Regions from separate parts of the Homo sapiens genome. Here region 2 is linked to region 1. Evidence: promoter capture Hi-C in 16 types of primary human blood cells and fetal thymus (Javierre and others, 2016). All regions are on one chromosome and are shown on one strand. The core of a region is centred on a gene start or on the middle of the fragment in contact, and the rest is flanking DNA. Distances in the headings are between cores, read along the strand shown.

Evidence for each region. The method cuts DNA at HindIII sites, captures the fragments that hold promoters and counts their contacts. A CHiCAGO score of 5 or more calls a contact.
Region 2: a fragment that was not itself captured here is called in contact with the fragment with the promoter of DEPDC1-AS2 in region 1 in 4 of 17 cell types (naive B cells, total B cells, neutrophils and 1 more); the score reaches 6.0 in naive B cells.

The regions. Positions count from the first base shown.
Region 1 is chr1:68,477,328-68,480,941 of GRCh38, forward strand. DEPDC1-AS2 (DEPDC1 antisense RNA 2) reads left to right here and starts at 1,802. Exons shown (of 2, transcript NR_198991.1): 1 at 1,802-1,982. DEPDC1 (DEP domain containing 1) reads right to left here. Exons shown (of 12, transcript NM_001114120.3): 10 at 1,817-1,993; 11 at 460-645. The HindIII fragment of the contact is 5,599 bases long and covers 1-2,613 here.
Region 2 is chr1:68,144,752-68,148,365 of GRCh38, forward strand. It overlaps WLS (Wnt ligand secretion mediator), which reads right to left. Exons shown (of 12, transcript NM_024911.7): 8 at 3,385-3,448; 9 at 1,118-1,261. All of the region lies in intron 9 of GNG12-AS1 (GNG12, DIRAS3 and WLS antisense RNA 1), which reads left to right. Among named protein-coding and RNA genes, the nearest start is that of MIR1262, 37 kb to the right of the region's middle. RefSeq lists an enhancer at 2,974-3,614. The HindIII fragment of the contact is 3,622 bases long and covers 1-3,596 here.

The DNA of each region.
Region 1 (3,614 bases), core at 552-3,051:
ACTGATAAAACCTATGAAGGGCATAGGCATCTAGTATTCATATTTCTTTCAGTGTCTCAGACTTAGAATTAGACATGCCAAAATCATGTGGCTACTGGGCTTTCAGAGCTAAAAATTCTAAAACAGTGATAAGTCACTCAAAGATACATATCCATACCTTATAAATTGCTTTCCCAGGCTAATCCAAGCTATAATTATACAAAATACCAGTGAAAAAGGAGAGTATATATTATTACTGTTGGTATTATTTTAAAATTCAGGATAAAGAGCAAAATCAGGTAGGTACTCACATGTTTTAGGTTAACGCACATATACAAGACATCATAATATATAGTCTATATAACTCAAACTTAAAATCTAAAATATTAAAATAAGAAAGTAGATTCTAAATGTTATTAACAACCAGGAACAGCACATTAGAAAATGTTTACATGATTGAGAACTTGCTCATTCTCTTACCTGTTTTAGTTTTTTTCTTTTCTCCTTTAGAGGTAAACTCCTGTTTTTAATAATATTTTCTAAAAGTTCTGCAATTGCAGCTTGAGAGGTAGAAACTTTTTGCTCATCAAACTCCTGAGCACTAATCTGCTTACAGTATGAGTAAGTTGGCAAAGGAGCAAATAGTCCATCTCCAGGATTTTCAATCTGTAGTGATCAAAATGATATAACTCTGTTAATTCTGGTCATGTTCTTATATGATAAAGTATTCTTTTGATGGGATCTAGCACCTATTAATTTACCACCAATCAAACATTCAGCCATTAAAAAAACTATGTATTATGCAGTAGAGGTATGTAAGTCAGTAGGTTCTAAACCCCAGCTCCATAATCTACTTGGTTTGTAGCATTCAACAATGTATTTAACTTTTCTTGGTCTGTTTCTTCATCATTAAAATGGAAATTACATAAGAAAATGTATAGAAAGGGCTCAGCCCACAATAAGCATTAAATAAAGACAGGTATTATAATTATTACCATTAACTATGGATTTTATTCTTTTAACTATAAAATAACAATCTAAGTGTTATTCTAATTCATCTTAAGACTTTAATGTTCTGACAGTGCAGGTAGTAGATGATCAGCATATTTACTGAAATGAAATATTTTTAGTTTTCATGTATTTTTTTTTTTTTTGAGGCCTAGGGACATAGGCAGAGCTTCTAACATCTTCTGATAAGAGAAAGAAATTCTAGGAGATAGTTATAATTATAAGCCAGGGCAATATTAGAATGGTATGTATGGGAAAAACATAAACATGTGTTGGGCAGCCAAAGACAGAATACAGTAGATGTCTGTTATTTTGGCTGCTCAGTATTCCTTCTCTCCTTCTTTTAATAGTTCCTTCCCATTTTACCCCTCTACCTTCACCTTTTGTGAAGAATAAATTCTCCTTTGTGTAGAACCAATCAGAGTAAGGCCCTATCTCCATCCTACTCACTCTTAACAACCTAAACGATGCATATTTAACCTCAACTATGCTAAGAGTCTACATCCAGAGCTTTTAAATTGGAGACGGAGGAATGGCTCTTTTTCCTTTGAATTGCAAATGTAAGGCTCTAACTCATGAACTTCAACTAGCCACATTCCTCATCATGTGAAGGAGCCATTGTCAAACACAGGATCAACACAGAAATAAGAGATGGAGGGATGGAAAGAGTCATATAGCTATTTGAGTCCCAGATTCTGTCTACATTCCTGACTTTTAGAGGTTGTTTATGGGAGCTGATAAAGTCTCCCTTTTTGATTAAGCTATTTTGAGATGAGTTTGCCACTTGCAACTGACTATTGCAGAGAATTTTAAGACTCACAATACTTACATGTCCCTTTTTTAAGTAGTCAAGATGTTTTTCCACTGCAGTCTGTAAGTAAGAGGGTACTTGAAGAATTTCCTGATGATGATCCATTAAGAAAGAAACTAATCTTCCAGCAAGAAGCTCATCAAGATCCACTTCTTCAGCACAGCATAACACACATCGAGAAAAGGTATGTATCATCTAGAAAAATATTAAAAGATGTGAATTTAAAAAGCTAAGGTTGCATACAAACTAGAATATCGGTAATTTCCAGGTAGCATTATGTGAAGTATTGGGAAAAAGTGGTAAGCAGCCCTCAGTTTAAAAATGAGGACAACGATTTATACAGTTAGAAATGTAAGAATTTGATTATACATAAATCCTTTTTAAAGTTTTTCCATGGCTGAGCATGGTGGTTCATGCCTGTAATCTAAGCACTTTGGGAGGCTGAGGTGAGAGGCTCACTTGAGGCAAGGAGTTCGAAGCCAGCCTAGGCAACATAGTGAAACCCTATACCTATGAAGAAATAAAAAACTAGCCAGGCATGATGGTGCATGACTGTGGTTCCAGCTACTTGGGAGAGTGAGGCAGAAGGATTTTTTGAGCCCAGGAATTCCAGGGTGCAGTGAGCTATGATCACACCACTGTACTCTAGCCTGGGAAACAGAGCGTGATCCTGTGTAACCAGAAAAAAAAAAAAAAAGTATATCCTTAATGTAATTCCCAAGAATTATAAAAGGCTTTGGTTTTTCTACAATTTTGTCACAATTTTATCAGTAAACACCATAGGTTCTATTAATACCACATATATATGTTGCTTAAGCTTAAAGATTGTCAGAGAACAATAACTAATTACATTAAATGAATCCCACAGAAAAACACAAACCAGGAGAATGTGTAACATATAGAACACTTCTATTCATAAGTGGTTGCAAAGCTGATGCCATTTAGCTTTTGAAATGCTGGAAAATAGTTTTTAAAAATGTTTATTCTGTCAGTCTTTAGACAGCAATTTAAAACACACATTTTTCAATTCCATCTTATGGGATCTTCAAATCCTGGGATAAAATTGATTACTCTCACTTATTACTCTCGTTACTTTCACTTATATCTATGCAACCCTCTAACTGTACCACACACACACACACACACACACACACACACCCCTCATTCTAAAATACTTAGAAATCAGAATTGTTTTAAATATTTCACACATAGTAGATGATCAGAATATTTATAGAATTGATACATTTTTAGTTTTATTCCTACACATCACTCGGGGTTTCCTGTCTCCTTCCATGGCTCAGACCTCAGCCTTTTGCTCTTTCTTCACACTCTTAGCCTTGTAGAGCTCATCTACTCTCATAGCTTCAAGTACTATCCCTATGTAAATGACCAAATCAATTTGCATTCTCCCCTGATCTTTCTTCACCTGGCTCATATTTCCAACATTCTGTTGGACAAATTTCAATTTCTCTTGGAGGTCCTATGACTTCAAATCTTAAAAGTGCAAAACCAAAATTATCACCTTCCCAGTCATGTCTCTGAAAACATCTTCCTCTATAAACTTCCTAGCTTTTTAATAGTGCTATAATTACTCAAGAATAATTCTTCTTCTTTATATTAGGTCTGTCATTGTTAAAGAACTATCTTTAATAACGCGTGGAAGAAAGCATAACTCCGGATTCCTTGCTATAAGAACCTCTTGTAAATTGAAGTTGCATTTTGAGGAAGTGGTGACTTAAAAAAAAAGAAAGAGATTAAAGATACTATTTCAAGAGTTCATTTCCAATCAATTGTCTGCATATAAATGCCCTTATCC
Region 2 (3,614 bases), core at 536-3,035, 330 kb before region 1:
ACCAAATCCCTAAGAATGACAGTAAAATAGTTTCCCATAGTAATATTTCTTCTGCAGAGGTGAGTGTGGCTGAAAATTTCTTGGGCCAAGTATTTCCTATGTTCTTATCACTCATAAAGCAGCGATACGAGAGCCTGGGAAATTATATTCACAACACGTCGTGAGGCTGCTAATTTCCCTGCTAAGCTGGTTATGCTTCTCTGCAAGGGTTCAAAGTTACCAAATCCAAGTTTTCTGTGGTTGTAATAAAATTCTGCTCCAGTGAACAAAAAGAAATGTGCATATTAATCAACATGAAGTGGATTTGGTTGAATTTTCTCATGTCACTCCAGCTCTGGAGACAGGCAAGCCTTAGAAAGTGCCTGTGGTTTCCTAAGAGCAGGATTTAAGAGAACCTGTGTTTCAGAGAGGGAGGCCTATTATTCAGGGGCTCTTCTGTGCAGATCTACTGCATATAAAAACTCTGAGGTTCTGTAGTTTCTGCTTCTCTTTTCATACAGGAATTAGGCTTGTTTCTCCAAGGACAGCCACTTAGGCATGAACCCAGGGGATCCCTGATAAATCAAGGATGTGTTGCTTGCATTGGGGATTTGAGGATGTTAAGTGTTTCTCTTGAATGAGGAACATAATCTATAAACAGAGATTACTGAACTCTGTCTGAGCATCTGCTGGATATTTTAGGGGAATGTGGCCTGTTAAGAGTCTGGAAATCAGATCACGTGGGCTAAACCCTGTTTAATTACAGGACAGGGTTGATTCTGGGACAGAACTTTGACTAAAGCCTCATCCCAACAAAATCCCAATTATGCCATAGTCCAATCTCCCAGCTAGTATGTAACCTACATTCCATCACCAAGCTGAAGAACCGGCTGAACAAGTTTATTCATTACTGAAAATGGAAACACATTTGTACCACAGAAAACACCAAGATTTAGGCCAGCTAGATGCTTCTCAGAGTAAGATTTGGCCTCTAATTTTGCCCAGAGATCCTACATGAGAATCTCTCAATTTGTATTTCAAAGTAAAGGCTTTCTATCTCCAGGGTGTGTGTGTTTACACATCAAGTGGAAAGATCAAGCAAGCACCAGTTCCAGAACGAGCCAAGAAATCTGCCCACCTCATAGTGTAGCCGCCGGACTTTGCTCATAGCTGGCAGGCTGGACTGCTTCCCACTGATGTTCCGAAACACCTGAAATACCATGAAGCATAGAAACAGGAAGTAGAGGCAGAGGCAGATTCCAGCCACGATGATGAAGGCCATCTGGTCGTGTCCAGTAAAGGAAACAACGGGCTAGCCAAGGCCAAGTTGAGCCGGGTCCAGGCCCTTCTCCCCAGGTCTGTTGGCAATACTTGTTTTGTCTCCAAATATGTAGAAAATTTTCAAGGGGATAAAATATTAAAACCTGATATTCTAATGCCAATGATAGGTTTCTTGACACATTAGTACCACAGAGGGAGGTGTTCAATATTGCTTTCTAAACCAAGTAAGAAAAGAAATGGTGTCTTGCTTGTTAGAAATGAAGAATCTAGGCCCTACCCTAGACCTAATGAATCAGAATCTACCTTTTAACCAGGTCCCCAGGAGATCCGTATACACAATAAATTTGAGAAGCACTAATAAACCATATATTCGTCACTATGGATCAGATGAAAAACCACAGTAAAATCACCAGAAGGGTTCAAATGTAGATCCCCAGGTCCCTCCCTAGATATATGGAATCAGATATTCCAGGGCTAGGACATCAAGTATGACTATGTTTGGGAACCACTGGGCTAGTCCTTGGAGTTTTATAAGAATGCGATTGAGATACTCTGGCATAATTGAAGAGGAGATACGTGGGGGCTCAGTGCAGGGGACCTGGGCATGGGCTTGAAAGTCTTAAAGTGAAACCAGGGATGAAGGACTATTTGCAATCTTCTGTCACCACAGAAAATCTTGTCCAACAGAATGGGGATTCAAGGACACATGGCACAGGTGGGAGTCTGGGTTGCTGCCAGTATACTTGAGACCCACTAGGGAGACTGACCTGCCAATTAGAGCCAGTCTGAGAACCACCAAGTCTTAGGATAGCGTGAGCTGCCTTGGAAGGCAGATGACCTGATTCCAACCCCTTTCTGCTACAACTTTGCCCAAATTGCCTTTTTTTTTTTGAGACAGAGTTTTGCTTTTGTTGCCCGGGCTGAAGTGCGATGGCACAATCTTGGCTCACCACAACCTCCTCCTCCCAGGTTCAAGCGATTCTCCTGCCTCAGCCTCCCGAGTAGCTGGGATTACAGGGATAAGCCACCACACCTGGCCCAAATTGTCTATTTTTAAAAGCATTTAATAAGTATGAACTTGGCGTGCATATTTCATTAAATAATATAATATCTAATGCAGTTTCTCCTTCTTTCCTATAATGAACATCATCCTGGAATGAAGGGAATATAGTTATTTTCTGCAGGACTTGAAATTTTACTCACTCCATCCTATCTACAAAATTAAAAAAGTTGAACTAGATTTAACATTAGAAACATTCTTCTTGTTGTGCAGCTAACATTTGGTGGGGGCATAACAGAGGAAGGGTAGAGCTTCTCTCTCATCTTTGAGGAAATGATACTACTGATTTAGTTTGCTCACAATGTTCTTGTGACACTGAGAAACCAATATAAACATCATGGCAAGACAAAGGATATTCCCTAGCACGTGGCAAGATATGAGCCATCAAGGAAGAATACAACCCAAGCCTTTCTCTCCACTCCAGAGCAGAGTCTTTTTCTCCCAAGATCATTTCACATACTATTCCGGAAGATAAAATATTTAAATCCAGCATCCTAAAAGGGATAAGCTAAGACTGTCACTTCTGCTTCATGAAGATGACTTAGAGTTTATGCCAACCAACCAGAAGCCTTGGCGACTTCTCTGGAACTAATCACCTTAGCCTTATCTCCACTTGGTCTCAGGAATAAATAGCAGCAGTGTGATTTGCCAGCACACCAAGGTCACTTAAGAAGTCTCACACATAGGTGGTTTCAGAAACAGGCTCTTCCACAGGGGCCCAGAGATGAACCTCCATGGCTCCAGGGAAAAGCTAGTCATGCTTCAGTCTGCAGGAAACAGTGTATAACAGATAATTCAGACAGGCTGCAGTAAGCCTAGCAACTCGGATCCCTCTGCTGTGAGGATAGGCTGTGACCTTCTCATTTTGCCTGCTCTCACCCAGGCTTGAAAGCAAGCAGTAATTCTTCTTATTATTAGCCTTAATTGTGCTGTTATGATTGGCCTGAGAATCAAAGCCCTGGCTGAGTACATATGGGGAGCATCAGCAGAGCCTTAGAAAATGATCTTGGGGACTGGGTGGCCAGGGGAAGAAATAAAACCCTGAGCCCATCAAGGAAGGATACGGCCAGCTCTGTTCCAATGTCTGTAGTCCAGATACTGTAGAAGGGATTCGTGAGTTGTACCCCTCTACAAAGAAAATGAGATGGAAAGGCAAGACACAATTAATACAAAGGCAACGGGAACTTTCCTTTTCACATATTCTTAGCTTTTCAGCTGCAGGGGTGAGGGCTGTATTTAGGCTAAAAAACATTACAGAAATCCTAAAGAGAAATGAAGCTTGTAGAATACATCG